Regions from separate parts of the Homo sapiens genome. Here all the other regions are linked to region 1. Evidence: promoter capture Hi-C in human tissues and cell types (Jung and others, 2019). All regions are on one chromosome and are shown on one strand. The core of a region is centred on a gene start or on the middle of the fragment in contact, and the rest is flanking DNA. Distances in the headings are between cores, read along the strand shown. Region 1 holds the start of FOXB2 (forkhead box B2). Region 2 has its middle 51 kb from the start of FOXB2. Region 3 has its middle 35 kb from the start of FOXB2.

Region 1 (2,875 bases), core at 169-2,668:
GGACACGATACTCTGAACTTGACCCAGAGTGTCTAGCCCAGGAAAAAGGGTTTGTAAGGAGAGAGAAGCTCACAGCGAGTAGATGAAAACAGGGAAGGGTAAAAGGAAGGGGGCGGAAGAGGGAGATGCCAGAGAGAAGAGAAGCAAGAAGGCAGTGTCCTGTTCCCCCTCCACCGTGCTTGGTGGCCCGGGTGGGGCGCAGCTGCGGGAAATGCACCCGGAGCTGTGCCCCCTCCCGGCGAACAGCCTGCGCCACCCGCCGCACCGGGAGGTGGCTGGGGGCTGCCGAGCGAGTGGTGAACGCGATGGGTGGAGAGCGCCCGAAACGAGGTGGAAAAGGGGGCGGGGGCGAGGCACGGCGCCTTCTTGCCCCTTCTTCAGCTACAGACGCGGCGGCGGCGGCTGAGTCCCTCAGCCTCGGTCATGTGATAGTCTCGAAGCGCTAGCTGCGGGGGTCTCGGCGTCTCGGGGACCATTACAAAACGCAGCCAGGAGAGCGCGTCGCTGCCACTGCCGTCGCCTCTCCTCCTCAAGACAAGCCCGGGAGAAAGGCGGCAGCTGCGGCGCGGACGGCTGAGCCTCCCCGGCCAGCACTCACCCAGCATTCGCAGACGCCCTCTCCAGCCCGCCGCTCGCTCCCAGAGTCCTGCGCCCCACACTCCTCAGCAGAACCTGCGGGCGCTGCCGCTTCAGAAACCACCAAAGTTTTTTCTCCTCAGCGACAGCCTAGGGCTGCGCGTCTCTTCTAACCCCGGCGACGCTGCGAGCCTCGGAGAAAAGAGAGGCGCCCTAGAAGCCAATCTTCTCTCTCCTTACCCTGATTTTTCACTCCAGGAAAAGGAGAACTCCAGCGCGGTCTGGCTAAGTGCCTGGCCAGGGGCCTGCGTCCAGGGCACTGGAAGTCCTGCTGTCACTGGCCTCCAGGACAGCAGGCGCAAACTCAGATTTAAAGGGCCAGAGTCTCTACTGCCCAGACCTTCCTCCCAGCCATCTTGGTCTGGGTTTCCCTCGGACCTAGAAAAAGCAAAGAGGCCGGGAGGAAACACGGCCCCTTGCCACTCTCCTCTGCAGCCAGCTCCAGCACTCAGTCTTTGGCCACCCGGGGGAAGACGCAGAGAAGGCGGCGGTAAACCTGGTGCACTCCGCCCGCGACTGTGCGCGCCAGTCGGCAACCGTCGGGGCCAGAAGTTGCCAGCTTCCGAGAGCTGAGTAGGCCCGAAAGGCCAAGGTCGGAGACACCAGGCAATTCGGAGAAGGCAGGAGAGAGAAGCAGAGAGGGCCTGGAGGGCGAGAGGGCAAAGTGGCGGGACTGGAGGGGCCGAGTGGGAATTAGTGGGGGCAGCCAGGCCCCAGGAACGGAGTGCGGAGAGATTCTGTGGTCCAGTGCGGGCCGGAGGGCGGTGGAGGAGCCGGGGGCGATGCCGCGGCCGGGGAAGAGCTCGTACAGCGACCAAAAACCGCCCTACTCTTACATCTCGCTGACCGCCATGGCAATCCAGCACTCGGCCGAGAAGATGCTGCCGCTGAGCGACATCTACAAGTTCATCATGGAGCGCTTCCCCTACTACCGCGAGCACACACAGCGCTGGCAGAACAGCCTGCGCCACAACCTCTCCTTCAACGACTGCTTCATCAAGATTCCGCGGAGGCCCGACCAGCCTGGCAAGGGTAGCTTCTGGGCGCTGCACCCCGACTGCGGGGACATGTTCGAGAACGGCAGCTTCCTGCGGCGTCGCAAGCGCTTCAAGGTGCTGCGCGCCGACCATACTCACTTGCACGCGGGAAGCACCAAGAGCGCGCCGGGCGCCGGTCCGGGAGGGCACCTTCACCCCCATCACCACCACCACCCCCACCACCACCATCATCACCACGCTGCCGCACACCACCACCATCACCACCACCCACCCCAGCCGCCGCCGCCGCCGCCCCCGCCGCCGCCGCACATGGTACACTATTTCCATCAGCAACCGCCTACTGCTCCGCAGCCGCCTCCGCACCTCCCGTCACAGCCCCCGCAGCAACCGCCCCAGCAGTCGCAGCCTCAGCAGCCGTCTCACCCCGGCAAGATGCAGGAGGCGGCGGCCGTGGCGGCGGCGGCGGCGGCGGCCGCGGCAGCCGCGGTGGGCAGCGTGGGACGCCTGTCTCAGTTCCCACCCTACGGGCTGGGCTCGGCCGCCGCCGCTGCCGCCGCGGCCGCGGCGTCCACGTCAGGCTTCAAGCACCCCTTTGCCATTGAGAACATTATTGGCCGGGACTACAAGGGCGTGCTGCAGGCTGGAGGGCTGCCCTTGGCGTCCGTCATGCACCACCTGGGCTACCCCGTGCCCGGCCAGCTTGGCAACGTCGTCAGCTCCGTGTGGCCGCACGTTGGCGTCATGGATTCGGTGGCCGCCGCCGCGGCCGCCGCAGCCGCAGCCGGAGTCCCTGTAGGCCCGGAGTATGGGGCCTTCGGGGTCCCGGTCAAGTCCCTGTGCCACTCGGCAAGCCAGAGCCTGCCTGCCATGCCGGTGCCCATCAAGCCCACGCCTGCGCTGCCGCCCGTGTCCGCGCTGCAGCCGGGGCTCACTGTCCCCGCGGCTTCGCAGCAGCCTCCGGCGCCATCCACCGTGTGCTCCGCGGCCGCGGCCTCGCCCGTTGCCTCTCTGCTGGAGCCCACAGCCCCTACCTCGGCCGAAAGCAAGGGCGGCTCCTTGCACTCGGTGCTAGTGCACTCCTAGGGGACCCGGCGGGCGTGGGGAGACCAGCGGGGTGAGAGACGCCGGGCCCGGAACCGCCCAAACCACCCGACGGGGAGAGGGCGCCCTGGTCAGGCCGGGCAGAGCTGGCGAGTCTCAGCCTTTGCTGGAACGGAAGGTATTTAAATAGACGAACAACC
Region 2 (2,875 bases), core at 105-2,604, 51 kb before region 1:
CCCTTCCAAGTGCCCCAGTGCCTAAGCACCCACTCCCCAAGCACCCACTCCCCCACTTCTGGCCTGAACCTGGTCGTTACTATCCTGTGAGGCGTTTCCTAGATGCTCAACAACCCCATATACGTTCACATGCATCGTCTCGTTTAATTCTGTGCTTTGTTCCATCATTCCCTCTGAGCAAAATGGCTGCCACCTCTACACCACCAACCCAAATTCAATCCTTCAAGTTCAAACCTCACCTCTTCCACAAAGTCTTCCCGTGATCCCTCCCGCTAATAGCAATCTCCTCCTGGTCTGAATTTAAAGCACTTATTTTCTGAAGTAATCACTTGGCAATGATCCATACTAGTCTTATGATTTCTTTCCATTTTCAATGGTCTCATATGTTTGCTTCTGCAACTTGGCTATAAATGAACAGGAGGGGCACAGCCTATGTCTTTTTGTAGTATTACACAAGATCACCTTCTTCTAATAACCCTTTGAACCACGGGTATCACCACTTTTCTCCAGCCCATACCTACACAATACCACCCAACTTTGCAAAGTTATAGGTGACAAAGTACATATTGGTCCTAACCCATAAATATCCATCCTTTTAAATGTTCAACAACCCTGTGAAGAAGGTTTTATGATTTCTATTTTAGAGGAGACAAAATTGAGACGCAGGATGTTAAGTAATTTGCCCCAATCTCATTGACAATTTGACTAATCACATTGCTAAGAAGTGATAGTATTGTCAAGTGACAGTTTCACTTACTGTGCCAGATTATGCTGCTCTAGAATATATTCCCAGAATCTAATACTGTTTAGATCCTTATAGCACTTCACATAGTAAGTGAAAAGAACTGAGATTGCTTTTAAGAGAGCAAGAGAGTGAGAAAGCTCACAGGTAAATATTGGTAGAGAAATTAGCAACGAATATATAATTGGGAAGTATAGTTCTCATCCTTTAGTTGGATCTTTACAGAATCAGTATATAGGCTTCAGGACGCCTGTGAACCACTTGAAATTAAAATGAAATTGTACCAGGAATGTGTACATCTGTGCATATTGTGGGAGGGAGAGTCCACAGCTTTTATAAGATTATTAGAGTAATTCTCTGCCAGTCCTCAGGGTGATCACACATCTTTTGCTTTTCTCTCTTCCTGGCCCATAAGCAGATGGCACTGTCCCACCTCTAGAAGCAAATACATCCATGTGACTTGGGGCACTGAAATGTGAGAGTGACTTTGGGCACTTTTGGACAGAAACCTTAAGAGACAAAGCTTACCACATTTCATTTCCCTCTGGTATCATGGTTGGCAATGGTCAAAATGGCAGCAACTCCATTAGCTCAGGCCCCTGAGGCTCTGCAAATCGGCCGGTCCCTCCTGCCAATCCAAAATGGACATGTAGTGTGAGGAAAAAAAAAAGCTTTGATGTTTTATTCCAAGGAGATCATACGGCTATTTGTTCCTACAGCACACCCTCATTTGTCATCGCCGATACACATCTTTAACCCCTCAAAAGTTAAAGATCACTTTAACCCTAATGAATGAAGTCCTAACAGAAGACGAATTCCAGGAAGAATTTCTTCTTCTCTTCATACCGATGAGAGCCATATACTATATTGAATTCTGCCTTAGTATTCCAATTACCTCTGAGTAACATTTCTCCCTATGGTAGCATATGACACATTGCTCTTTTTTCCTTCGTAAGTCACACACAATCACTCATGAAGGAAAAAATTGTGCACGTAAGTGCCAGAAGCTCCTAGGAGAAGGAAGCATGATCATGAACAGCTTACAGAGGGGAAGAATTCCTCAGAGATTTGGGACCATTTTCTCTGTTTGTCCCATTAGTAGCTCTGAACATCCATATGAATGGAATATTCCATTAATCACTTAGTCAGTTTCCATGGCTCAAGACAGTTCTCCAATTATCATGCACAACTTGGCAATATTCATCTCTCTAAAATGTCATTTGGAGCATGTCATTTTCTTTGTCAAAATCAGGCAGTGTTTTCCTAGTACCAACAGGACAGAAGTACAAAGATGTTGCCTTAGCAGTCAAGCCCACTTGCACACAGCAACTATCAGTATCATGGGTATTGATGCCATCACCCAGCTTCCTGCCCTCTGTATACCTCATACTAACCAGACCAGTTGTCTCTTAATGCCCTGAACAAACTGGCGTGTCTCCACCTCAATACCTTTGTTTACTCTGTTCCCCTTGCCTGGAATGTCTTCTCTCCCTCCTCTCACACAAATCCTCCAAAACTACAAATTCACTTACTCTCTGATGAAGCGATTGACCTCTAGGTATCTATCTCAAAGACTGACTGGAAAAAATATGAAATGCTATTTATTGCAGCACTATTATGATAACAAATGACTGAAAACATCAAACTTTCCATTAAAAGTAATGACTGAACAACTTGTTAGAGCTGTGCAATGAGATACTGTGCAGTCATAAAAAGTACTGAGAAGTATCTGGATATAGAGTGATCTCTAGGATATATTAAGTGAAGACAGTACATTGGGGGAAAATGTGTGTTCTGTGTTAATAAATAGCTAAGGCACATGGGCTCATACTGAGTGCTAGGGAGGCTTCCACAGCCTGGGATGGGGCAGAACACCTGTAAGAAATCCCTTTGAGGCAACCCAGCCTTCTTGAGTTAACTGCAGCAGCCTTCCAAAGACTGTGAGTAAGGTAGCAAACCAGATATCCCCAGGCATAGACCCCTACAGGCACAAGTGGAAAGCAACGAGAACTTCCCAAAGACCCCAAAAGCAGACAGCCAGGCTGTAAAGCAAAGAGAGATCTCCCAGGGCTCAAAATTCAGACAGTTCATCTGTAAAGCAAAAGGAGATCCCTGGAAATTCACCAGTGTTCA
Region 3 (2,875 bases), core at 194-2,693, 35 kb before region 1:
AATATTGTTATGTGTGAATTTGATCCTGTCATTATGATGCTAGCTGGTTATTTTGCAGACTTGTTTATGTGGTTGCTTCATAGTGCTGCTGGTCTCTGTACTTCAGTGTGTTTTTGTGGTGGCAGGTAATGGTTTTTCCTTTCCATATTTAGTGCTTTTTCAGGAGCTCTTGCAAGGCAGGCCTGGTGATGTCAAATTCCCTCAGCATTTGCTTGTCTGAAAAGGATCTTATTTCTCCTTAGCTTATGAAGCTTAATTTGGCCAGATATAAAATTCCGGGTTGGAAATTCTTTTCTTTAAGAATGTTGAATAGTGTCGTTTCTGTATCTTGGCTATTGTAAACAACGCTGCGATGAACATGGTAGTACAAATATCTTTTATTTGGTCTTCCCCCAATCTCCTCTGGCTTGTAGAGTTTCTGCTGAGATGCCCACTGTTAGTCTGATGGGCTTGCCTTTGTAGTGACCTGGCCTTTCTCTCTGGCTGCCCTTAACATTTTTTCTTCCATTTCAACCTTGGAGAATCTAAAGATTGTGTGTCTTGGGATTGATCTTCTCATGGAGTGTCTTACTGGGGTTCTCTGGATTTCCTGAATTTGAATGTTGGCCTGTCTTGCTAGGTTGGGAAAATTCTCCTGGATGATATCCTGAAGTATGCTTTCCAACTTGGTTCCATTCTCCCTGTCACTTTCAGGTATTCCAATCAGTCATAGGTTTGGTCTTTTTACATAATCCCATATTTCTTGGAGGTTTTGTTCATTCTTTTTCCTCTATTCTTGTCTGCCTGTCTTATTTCAGAAAGATAGTCTTCAAGCTCTGAGATTCTTTCCTCCACTTGGTCTATTCTGCTATTGATGCTTCTGATTGCATTGTGAAGTTCTTGTGTTGTGTTTTTCAGCTCCATCAAGTCAGTTCTGTTCCTCTCTAAATTGGCTATTCTGGTTATCAGCTCCTGTACTGGTTCTTAGCTTCTTTACATTGAGTTAGAACATGATCCTTTAGCTCAGTGAAGTTCATTATTACCCACCTTCTAAAGCCTACTTCTGTTAATTCAGCCATCTCAGCCTCAGCCCAGTTCTGTGCCCTAGCTAGAGATGTGTTGGGTCATTTGGAGAAGAAGCAGCACTCTGGCTTTTTGAGTCTTCAGTGTTTTTGCGTTGATTCTTTGACATCTTTGTGGGCTTATCTCCCTTCGATCTTTGAGGTTGCTGAACTGTGAATAGGGGTTTTGTGGGGTCTTTGTTGTTGATGTTGTTGTTATTGCTTTCTGTTTGTTTGTTTTCCTTTAACAGTTAGGCCACTCTTCCATAGGGCTGCTGTGGTTTGCTGGGGGTCCACTCCAGATCCGAGTCACCTCAGTCCCTCCCTGGACGTATCACCAGCGAAGGCTACGAAACAGCAAAGATGGCAGCCTGCTCCTTCCTCTGGGGGCTCCATCCCAGGGGGCACCAACCTGATGCCAGCCTGAACGTTCCTACAGGAGGTGTCTGGAGACCCCTGTTAGGAGGTCTCACCCAGTCAGGAGGAACAGGGTCAGGGACCCACTTAAAGAAGCAATCTGGCTGCCCCTTGGCAGAGCAGGTGTGCTGTGCTGGGGGGAGCCCTCCTCATCCAGACTGCCCAGACTCTCTAGAGCCAGGAGGCTGGGAAGGCTATGTTAGCTAAATCACAGACAGGGTGGCCACCCCTCCCCCGGGGACTTCGTCACAGGGAGAGATCAGATGAACTCATGATTTTTAAAAATAGATTTCCTAGTTCTGACCGTTGAAAGAGTCTAGAAGTACCAAAACTCCGGTAGCAATTAGCATACCTAGTATCTGGATCTTGGCTTCTAAATACCATTCCCCAATAAAAGGAATCAAATATCCTCAGTAAAAGGTTGAATTCCAAGTCTGGGGCAAGGAAAGGACAAGATGAGACATCTTGTTTTGCCAGAAAGCAAGGAAGCCTTTACTAAAGAAATGATAAGGGCATATCAGTAAAACACAGCAACCAGTTTTCAGGGCTTCTACTTGGCAAATTTGGGGAAATTGTAGCCTCAATAAGTATAATGAATTGTTAAATATTGAATAAATGAAAAGGCATAAGTCCACATACAATACTCAAAGGAGGCAAAACAAAACAAAATTAATTTGGCACCATGGAAGATTATGACTATTATTTTAACTTTCAACTCCTTACTCTGAAAATTGGAAATTAAAACAAAAGAACTATTTTCCCTGCTTCCTAAGAGCAATGGTAGTTAATCTCCAGGTGATCTAGAAAAGCTTCTTCAGAGAAGAATGTCGGCTAATAAGTTTGCAACCCCCAGTGAAATAATTGATTCAGAAAATGACTAAATCAATGAATGTTAAAATCATTAGTTAAAAGATTGCTGGGAAAAGGACAGTGTCATATATCTCCAGTTGCTTGCTAATTGCAAAGGGGAAAATGGGCCTTTACAATCAGAGATCTACTTGTCACAACAAAACCAAGTAACTTAGCATCATTAATAGTGAAACAACCTGGCATTTTGTGCCTCCTGATGTGGTGCAATATGAAGTACACAATAACATTTATAAAGTTATCTGGCCAAAATATTCTACCTGAATCTCATCAAGGTTTCAGAGCTGACTTCCAGTTTATAGTAGCTACAAGCAAGAGAGGAACTAGTTAAAAGATAAGATATTGCATCAGACACACTTATGTATCAGATCCTCTCGGCCTCATCTGTCTCCAGGGACATTGTGTTCAGCTCCAGGCATCCTTGCAGAAACCAAGTCTGCCTGGGCTCCAGAAGACTTTATGTGGGCAGCACCCTACAGTGCTGCTTCTCATCCCAGGCTTCCCCCGAGACAGAGATATGAAACTTCGCAGCCAGTTCCAGGCTTGCTCAT

What was found. The method cuts DNA at HindIII sites, captures the fragments that hold promoters and counts their contacts. A contact is called where the count stands out against the background at its distance.
Region 2: a contact is called between a fragment that was not itself captured here and the fragment with the promoter of FOXB2 in region 1, in 5 of the 25 tissues and cell types used here (IMR-90 fibroblasts, adrenal gland, bladder and 2 more).
Region 3: a contact is called between a fragment that was not itself captured here and the fragment with the promoter of FOXB2 in region 1, in 5 of the 25 tissues and cell types used here (liver, mesenchymal stem cells, ovary and 2 more).

The regions. Positions count from the first base shown.
Region 1 is chr9:77,018,237-77,021,111 of GRCh38, forward strand. FOXB2 (forkhead box B2) reads left to right here and starts at 1,419. Exons shown (of 1, transcript NM_001013735.1): 1 at 1,419-2,717. The coding sequence starts at 1,419. The coding sequence ends at 2,717. The HindIII fragment of the contact is 6,747 bases long and covers 1-2,875 here.
Region 2 is chr9:76,966,838-76,969,712 of GRCh38, forward strand. No RefSeq gene overlaps it. Among named protein-coding and RNA genes, the nearest start is that of FOXB2, 51 kb to the right of the region's middle. The HindIII fragment of the contact is 3,894 bases long and covers 1-2,875 here.
Region 3 is chr9:76,983,001-76,985,875 of GRCh38, forward strand. No RefSeq gene overlaps it. Among named protein-coding and RNA genes, the nearest start is that of FOXB2, 35 kb to the right of the region's middle. The HindIII fragment of the contact is 5,344 bases long and covers 1-2,875 here.